Linked DNA regions of Homo sapiens: region 2 is linked to region 1. Evidence: promoter capture Hi-C in 16 types of primary human blood cells and fetal thymus (Javierre and others, 2016). All regions are on one chromosome and are shown on one strand. The core of a region is centred on a gene start or on the middle of the fragment in contact, and the rest is flanking DNA. Distances in the headings are between cores, read along the strand shown. Region 1 holds the start of OSMR (oncostatin M receptor). Region 2 overlaps EGFLAM (EGF like, fibronectin type III and laminin G domains).

The links. The method cuts DNA at HindIII sites, captures the fragments that hold promoters and counts their contacts. A CHiCAGO score of 5 or more calls a contact.
Region 2: a contact is called between a fragment that was not itself captured here and the fragment with the promoter of OSMR in region 1, in 1 of 17 cell types (M1 macrophages). The highest score is 5.3, in M1 macrophages.

The regions. Positions count from the first base shown.
Region 1 is chr5:38,844,013-38,848,008 of GRCh38, forward strand. It overlaps OSMR (oncostatin M receptor), which reads left to right and starts at 2,000. Exons shown (of 18, transcript NM_003999.3): 1 at 2,000-2,375. OSMR-DT (OSMR divergent transcript) reads right to left here and starts at 1,817. Exons shown (of 4, transcript NR_109951.1): 1 at 1,656-1,817. The HindIII fragment of the contact is 5,506 bases long and covers 1-3,318 here.
Region 2 is chr5:38,446,698-38,450,693 of GRCh38, forward strand. It overlaps EGFLAM (EGF like, fibronectin type III and laminin G domains), which reads left to right. Exons shown (of 22, transcript NM_152403.4): 18 at 1,604-1,682. The region is part of intron 1 of EGFLAM-AS5 (EGFLAM antisense RNA 5); the gene reads right to left. Among named protein-coding and RNA genes, the nearest start is that of EGFLAM-AS5, 20 kb to the right of the region's middle. The HindIII fragment of the contact is 683 bases long and covers 1,689-2,371 here.

The sequences.
Region 1 (3,996 bases), core at 750-3,249:
TATTTCCAAATAAACTGATATTTGGAGGTTTTGGGTGGATCTGACTTTATGGACCCAGTGCACCCACTGTTAAGGGTATAATCGCGAATTTATATGGTGCTACTGCATCTAGATTCTAGAATAACGTATAAATTTAAGAAATTAGAATGGTGCAAAAACAGATAAATTATATGTGGGCACCAAATTTTTACACTTCAGTCTCCTTCAATTGCAATAGGAGCCCAAAATAAGCCTCACTTTTTAGAAATTCATACTGGGCTGAATATTTTTATTTGACATCTCATTTGCTAGAAGAGAGATCCCTTTTAACTGTTTCTATAAAGAATAATTTTTTTTCTCAGTAAAATATAAAATCATAAAGACTTTCCAACTCTTGGGCTTGGCAGTTTCCATAACCATGCAGATGGCTAAACTAATGGACTCTTTAAAACTCTTCAAGTAATGAGAGGTGTGGCAAAGGACCATACATTTATTGAGACAAAAATACATTTTATTATCATCAAATATTTACTATGCATCATGGTCTTTGTGGCCCCATTAGGTATTAAGTGTATTAGGGCCTTTAGGCCTTTGTTTTAGGAAAAATAAAAAAACAAAAGGACTCTCAGCTTTCCTTGGGATGACATTGGGGAGGAGCCAGATATGTGAACAAACACAAAAGTAACATTTTAAAATAATTCTGACATTATTTTGAGTCATCCAGTCAATTCAATATAGGATTCTAAGATATGTTTATGGTCGATACTTGTTGATCACTCTTGGTTCCCTCCCCCACCCCCCTCCTACAACCTTGCTTTTGTGATACTTTCCAGGGTCCCCAAACTCAAACCAAACTAGGCTCAGCTGATCTGGAGCAAGGCCCCTTGCCTGCTGATTTGTCAGGCATCCAGACAGGCGAGGCTATGGGAGCTCCCGGTCCGAGGCTGCCTCGGAAGGCTCCTGTTATCCTCTAAGAGAGGTGAAATGCACCTTTCAAAGGCCCAGACACGGTAAAGATTGGATGGCATTTTTGGCCGGGCGCAGTGGCTGACGCCTGTAATCCCAGCACTTTGGGAGGCTGAGGCGGGCGGATCACGAGGTCAGGAGATCGAGACCATCCTGGCTAACACGGTGAAACCCCGTCTCTACTAAACATAGAAAAATTAGCCAGGCGTGGTGGCGGTCGTCTGTAGTCCCAGCTACTAGGGAGGCTGAGGCAGGAGAATGGTGTGAACCCGGGAGGCGGAGCTTACAGTGAGCCGAGATCGCGCCACTGCACTCCAGCCTGGGTGACACAGTGAGATGCCGTCTCAAAAAAAAAAAAAAAAAAAGGTTGAAGATTGGATGGCATTTTTAAGGGGAAAAGTAAACCATGTGTAGCATGTCGTAGCATTGGGAAATAAAGGTTTCGGGACTGTTGTAGCCGAAGAAACTTTGTCGGACAGGGCGTTTCTGGATAGAACGCGAGTAGGGGAAAAATGGGGACCGTTTGATTCGGTTCAAACACGTTTTCGTTGCTCTGGACGCCAAATGGAAACACGGCCAAAATTTAGTTAAAGGACTTCTCTTGCCTGAAGATTTTCGGACGGGGATCTCACGGGTTTGGCCTCTGGGTTGGGATGACAAGTGCCCCTGTGGGATACACAGCCCCAGGCCTCATCGGTCACTCGGCTTACCTCTGGTTCCGCCGGCTGGCCCGTGCGTCCTTGGCCGGGGCAGGAGCAGCGCTGCGCGCGGGGCACGGAGCCTCGGCCGCCGAGTTTTCGGTTTCCAAGTTTCCTTCCCAGGCCTCTCCCACTTCCTCTTCTCACCAGTGCCCGCCCGCCCGCAAAGTCCGGGTTGTGAGGCTGCGCCTCCCCCAGGATCGCGGCCGCCTCCCCCCGGGACTGAAGGGAGGGAATTCCTGTGGGTCCCAGGAGTGCCAAGAGTGCGCAGCAAGACGGGAAATTGCAAAAGACCTCACCCCTCTGCCCTCCCCCGCGGTTTTCCAGTAACTCCCGCCCCTCCGCGCTTGCCCCGCAGCTGATTCATAGCCCCGGCCCGGGCCGCCTCTGCACGTCCGCCCCGGAGCCCGCACCCGCGCCCCACGCGCCGCCGAGGACTCGGCCCGGCTCGTGGAGCCCTTCGCCCGCGGCGTGAGTACCCCCGACCCGCCCGTCCCCGCTCTGCTCGCGCCCTGCCGCTGCGCCGCCCTCGGTGGCTTTTCCGACGGGCGAGCCCCGTGCTGTGCGGGAAAGAATCCGACAACTTCGCAGCCCATCCCGGCTGGACGCGACCGGGAGTGCAGCAGCCCGTTCCCCTCCTCGGTGCCGCCTCTGCCCAGCGTTTGCTTGGCTGGGCTACCACCTGCGCTCGGACGGCGCTCGGAGGGTCCTCGCCCCCGGCCTGCCTACCTGGTGGGTGAAAACTAAATGATTCATTCCTTACAGGCCGCACAGTGCCGAGTCGCCCATTTCTCAGACTGTTTGAAATTCACCATCCCAGCGCCTTTTTCTCAAATGATGGTGGAATGTTTGTTGAGTGGAAAATTCCCACTTGAATCCCTCTTTCCTCTCTCCCAACACATCGTGTGGAGGAGTTCATTGCTTCCCCTACCTCTCCTCTCGTAACCCTTGACTCCCACCTGAGAGAGCCATTTTTCTGGGAATCCGTGTATCTCTCCCACCTGGTCCCTAGCGTAGAAGCGGGAGGAGCTCAAGCACAGGTGGAGAGAGGAATCCCCGGGCGACTCTGCAATAGCGTCCGTCCGGGGCGCTTACCTTCTTCTCCAGCCACTTGAGTGGAAGTGGCCCTCTACATTCTGGAAACCTAGGCACGGAGGGGTTCAGTAACTTGTCCAAGGCCATATGGCTAGCTGTGAGGGCACTGAAATCCGAGCCCGGCTCTCGCAGGCCAGGGCTTTACCCCTGACACCGCGATTCCTTTCTCGATAGTTCTTCATCTGCCCTTCATCCACCTACCCATGCATGCCTGCATCCGTCCATCCATCCTGCCTGCCTTGCTGCGGGAGGCACAGTGCTAGGTGCTGCTGATGGAGTGGCTTGGTAACAGACCTGCCTTGAAAACACTTTGGGAACAAGATATTCAAGAGAAGTAAATGGAAGGGTCTATGAAGGCAGAGAAGATAGAATTGAATGTAGGATACTTAGTTTGAGCTAGAAGGAATTCTGATGGAGGAGAAAGAAATTTTTAGGTTTTATTCCCAAGATTAAAACTGACTTTGGAACATGGGTCAAACTACTTATCACCTCTTAGTTTCCTTGTCTGCAAATAATAATGGTTCATACTTACTGTGAACCAGCCCCTATTCTAAGCACTTGACATATGCTAGCTCATTTAAGCTTCACGGGTGAGGCGGGTACTAGTTTTTTATTATATTTTATTGAGGAAACTGAGGCCCAAAGAGGTTTTGTAACTTTTCTAGGGTTACACAGCTAGCAGGTGACAGTATCAGGATTTGGGTTTGGAGTCTGCTCATGATCACCGTGCTGTAGCTCAAACTCTAAGACTGGGTGGGGTGTTTCATTATGGTCTTGCTTTGTCTCTCTCCTGGGCTGCTTTAAAATGCACTCAGAGCCCTTGATGTCCCCAAACTCCGCTGTGTCTGAGAATCATTTCTTGAGCTTTCAAAGCATCAAACTCCAAACACAGCCTTCTATTCAGAATCTTCAGGAAATACTCAGTTTGTTTTCCCCGTAGCATTTGTTCAGTGCCTCCAGTGGCAGGAAGCTCACCACCTCACATTTTATTGTAGGAAGAGCTAGTTCTCTGCTGTAAATTGCCTCCTTGTGACTTACATCTTGGTCCCAGTTCCCGTTTGTCCCAGCAGGTGTGGCTAAGCCTTTTGTATCAAAGGTGGCTTTGAGAGAAAAAGGCTGGTCTTGGGTGTTTCTTCCGCAGGGACCCGAGCCGCATTGGGGAGAACACATAAACACTGGTTCTTTCCCCCTCTACCCTTTTCTTTAACCTGAACAGACCAGGAACACATGCAGAGGTGTTCCTGGATCTCTCATGTTT
Region 2 (3,996 bases), core at 780-3,279, 400 kb before region 1:
TGTCTTTTAAATTTTCTGTTTCGTCCTTTGCTTTTCTTGTTTTCTTTCCTCTCTTCCTTTCTTTTTTAGTTTTTATGAAAGGCTCTGGGAAGCTGCCAACATAGGGACTTGTACTTGGGGGCCCATTGTCATAGGCTTTGCTGTTTCCGCTCTTTTTTTATGTTTGAAGGTTAATCTGTACGAATTTTCATAGTATCAAATAATTCTACATTTCCTCTCTGGGGTGGAGAGTCCTTCGTTCAGTGTCTTCTTTGCACCAACCATGTATTTTCGTGAAGCTATAACGTGTTTTATAAACCTTCTTATTCTCCCTCATTTTGTACATTTCTTTGAATTTGAGATTTATTCTACCTTAATTTCTTTAAACCACCATTTCTGTATCTTTCCAAAGAGGAAAGAGATATTGCTGTTATTTCTCCAGCAGAAATCCCCTAGCCTCATCCCCCGTTCATGACATCACACACAGCTACTTAAACTCTTCTTTTGCTAACTATGTGTAAAAGGGTAATTCCTCAGGAAAACAAAGTGATGAGAGTTTGGGAGGAAGAAAATGCATTTCTAAAATATTGGAAAGTTGAGAGGGGGCCAGAAGCCAGAATTAAGAAGAGCTGGTCAGTTTCAAGGCCTAGTGCTCTCTTAACTACGTGATCTCAGGCAAATCCTCCATGCTTTCTACTCCTCACTTTCTTCTTCCATAAAATGAGAATAACCAACCCTTCCCTTCCCCCATACTACCTGCTACTTCATGAGATTGTAGTGAAGATCTTGTGAAATAGACCAGGCACAGTGGCTCATGCCTGTAATTCCCAGCACTTTAGGAGGCCGAGGCGGGTGGATCACCTAAGGTCAGGAGTTCGAGACCAGCCTGGCCAATGTGGTGAAACCCCATCTCTACTAAAAATACAAAAATTAGCCAGGCTTGGTGGCAGGTGCCTGTAATCCCAGCTACTTGAGAGGCTGATGCAGGAGGATTGCTTGAACTCAGGAGGTGGAAGTTGCAGTGAGCCAAGATCGCGCCATTTCACTCCAGCATGGGCAACCAGAGCGAAACTTTGTTTCAAAAAAAAAAAAAAAAAAAGATCTTGTGAAATACACTGGAAAGTGATCAGAAATGCGGGAGTCCAAGCCTCATTCATAGTGCTTTAGAGTCTCTCGAAGTCCTAGCTTAAAAGGTTCTGCAGCAAATTAGCTTTCAAGAATCCTAGTGGGCCTTATTTAGGGATTTGTTTTCTCTGCCTCCCTAGGAGAACATCTGGGGTTATCCCCAGCTGCTCCCCACATGGCCCAAGAGCTGCTCTTTGGCTTCCAAGAATAATTGGGAACAGTTCAAGTTTCAGCACATTGTGAGGCCTTCTCAGCAGCGCTGAGGCCAGAGGCAGGGACAATACTTCCCCAGGAGGGAAAAATGGGGGAGAAGCCAACCCCAGGCCATGGGGTTGGGCAACTGTGAACCTGGCCAAATATGCGTGCAGCCGAAGGGAAGGGGCTGATGAATTGTTAAACATCCTATTTCCAGGAGCTGGGTGTTTTCCTGCCATGTGTGTGAGTGCAGGGGTCAAGAGAACCACATACTATGTAACCTCCTTTTTCTGTTCTGTCCCAGCGATCATAGAAGCCATTGAGATCCCGCAGTTTATCGGCCGCAGTTACCTGACGTATGACAACCCAGATATCTTGAAGAGGTAATAAGCTTCAACAGGCACCTTCCTCAGCTTTCTGGGGGTAAATTTCTCTATATCTTTCTCAGGGCTTTTTCTTATATTTCATGCCAGAAGATAATTCTCAAAGAAGACCATTCAGCCATGGCCTCAGGGGAAAAACACACACAACAAGAAATAAACATAGAAACTAGAGCAAAATAAAACAAAAAACAAACTAAACTTGAGAAATTGACCTTTCAGATAACCCTGTTACAAAAGATCCAGTATCTTTCTGGTCAAAGGGCCTGGAGAGAGAGACACGACTGGTCCCAGAGTTTCCAGTATTCAGGCTTCGAGAAACAGTGAGAATGTGATGTTCCTGAAGCCTGAGTGATGACTATGATTCTGTGAGCAGGGCAGTTCCGTGCTGTGCCGTGGCCAGAGTGTGCAGCTCTGACCTGGGCCAGCAGCAGAAGGACAGACAGATCCAAGCCCATTCCCTGCTGAGTCCATACCTACCCTGCGTCTTCATCAGCAAAGGTCTCTTGTCCTCTTCAGGCTCTGGCCAGTTCAGTGAGAGGCTTCTCAGCTCTCTTCATGTGGATACAGGGAAATGCCCAAGTCACAGCCATGGCATCTCACCCCTGGTGGCAGAAGTCCCAGCCCTGGCCTGGAGTCCTCGCTCTTGGTTTGGAATAGCCTTTGACATGGCAAAATCCTCAACTCGGTCAAGCTTGTCTTTGGCACTTTCAGTTTGCCCCTTATCTCTTTCTTTCCCTTCCCCAGTTCTTTGTGGTTTCTAGTGTGCTATTCCCCTTTCTGCTCCCCACACAATCATTCTGGGATTTTCCTTCCTCTTCAGATTGACTGCATCTTAACACACAAGGGCAAATCTTTAAGCGAAAGGCATCCAGTTCTTAGGGTGGAGTTTGGTGGCTTTTCAGGGAACAAAATGTGGTTGGGAGGAATTCTCCTAGGGCATTGGATGTCCCTGGTAACGCCCAACACACACCAGGCAGACACTGCTTCACTTCTCTAATCCCAGGTTGTATTAATCTACGTTGTCTTGGCATGGGGACTTAGGTAAAATGGATTCCCAGCCAAGAGAGACCGTCCTCCTTCTTCAGCCCTTTCTCTCCAAAGATGGAAGGTCATTCAGTCCCTAGAAAGCAGTGACAGCGTGAAAGGGGCCCAAGCCTTCAGTCTCTGGGGGTTAGTGAGAGACCACTAGGTGGTTTGGGGGAGTAGAGGGGCTTGATGAGAGCAGGAGACATGAGGCCCAAAACCACAGCTACCTCAAGGGCCATAGTGTGTGTGTATGTGTGTGTGCGCATGCATGTGTGTGTGTGTGTGTGTATGTATATGAAAGTATAAATGCATGTGTGTGAGGCTGCAGGTAAAAGTCAAGTTCAGGGTCTATTTCAGTCAGATATCTTTGGTGCCAAGTAACAGAAAGTTCAGCTTAAAATGCCTTACCCATGAGGGATATTTACTATTTCATATCACAAGGAGTCCAGACTTACACTGGATCTTGGGTTGATTAATTAAGAGAAGCAGCTGTACCCTCAAATATTCCAATCTCATCCCTATTTCTTGCTTGCTGTCCTCAGCGTCTTCTCCAGAGGCCACTCCCCAGCTGCCCATAAGCTGCACATAAGATGACTCTGACTACATCCAGTGGAAGTCCAAAAGACTTTTTTTCTCATATGACTCTTTTTAAAAGAGAAGGAATTCTTCCCAGAATTGTATCTCATTGGACAAAAGGGATATGATTGTGTCTCTTCTGTGCTGCCACATGCCTGCCCCTAAACCAATCACTGGCAAGAGAAATGAGAACCTCTTGATTGGCTTGTAACCAATCAATATACCCAAGGCAAATGGGAGAGGGAAGGAACCTGAGCGAAAATCTGGGCAAAGCAGGTCTCTAGGGAATGGGTCAGTGCTAGATTGTGCTGAACCTGGCCTGGGGGGCCTCGCTCTTCCCTCACTGTTCTGAGGCCCTGCATGGGAAATGCAAACTTGGTCTCTTCCTGACGAGCTCAGGCTCTGGGAAGCCTAGATAATAGTTCCCTCCACTGTTCACGATTGAGGACACTGCAGACACAGACCCAGGTGTGTGAGACAGACAGAGGGATGGCTCAAGTGACTAGAGAATGGACAAAGAAACTTTTCCAATGACATTATGCTAGTAGCAATGTTAAATTATGTTTCCTCCTATCTCACCCTTGATTCAAGGACCTCAGCCTTCCTCTTTTCTCTGTGCAAGATGAAACACTGATCACACTAATAAGAATGAATTTCTGAACTAGTCTATTCCCAAGCATTGCTAAGAGCATGTCAGCCTGTGAACCTATTC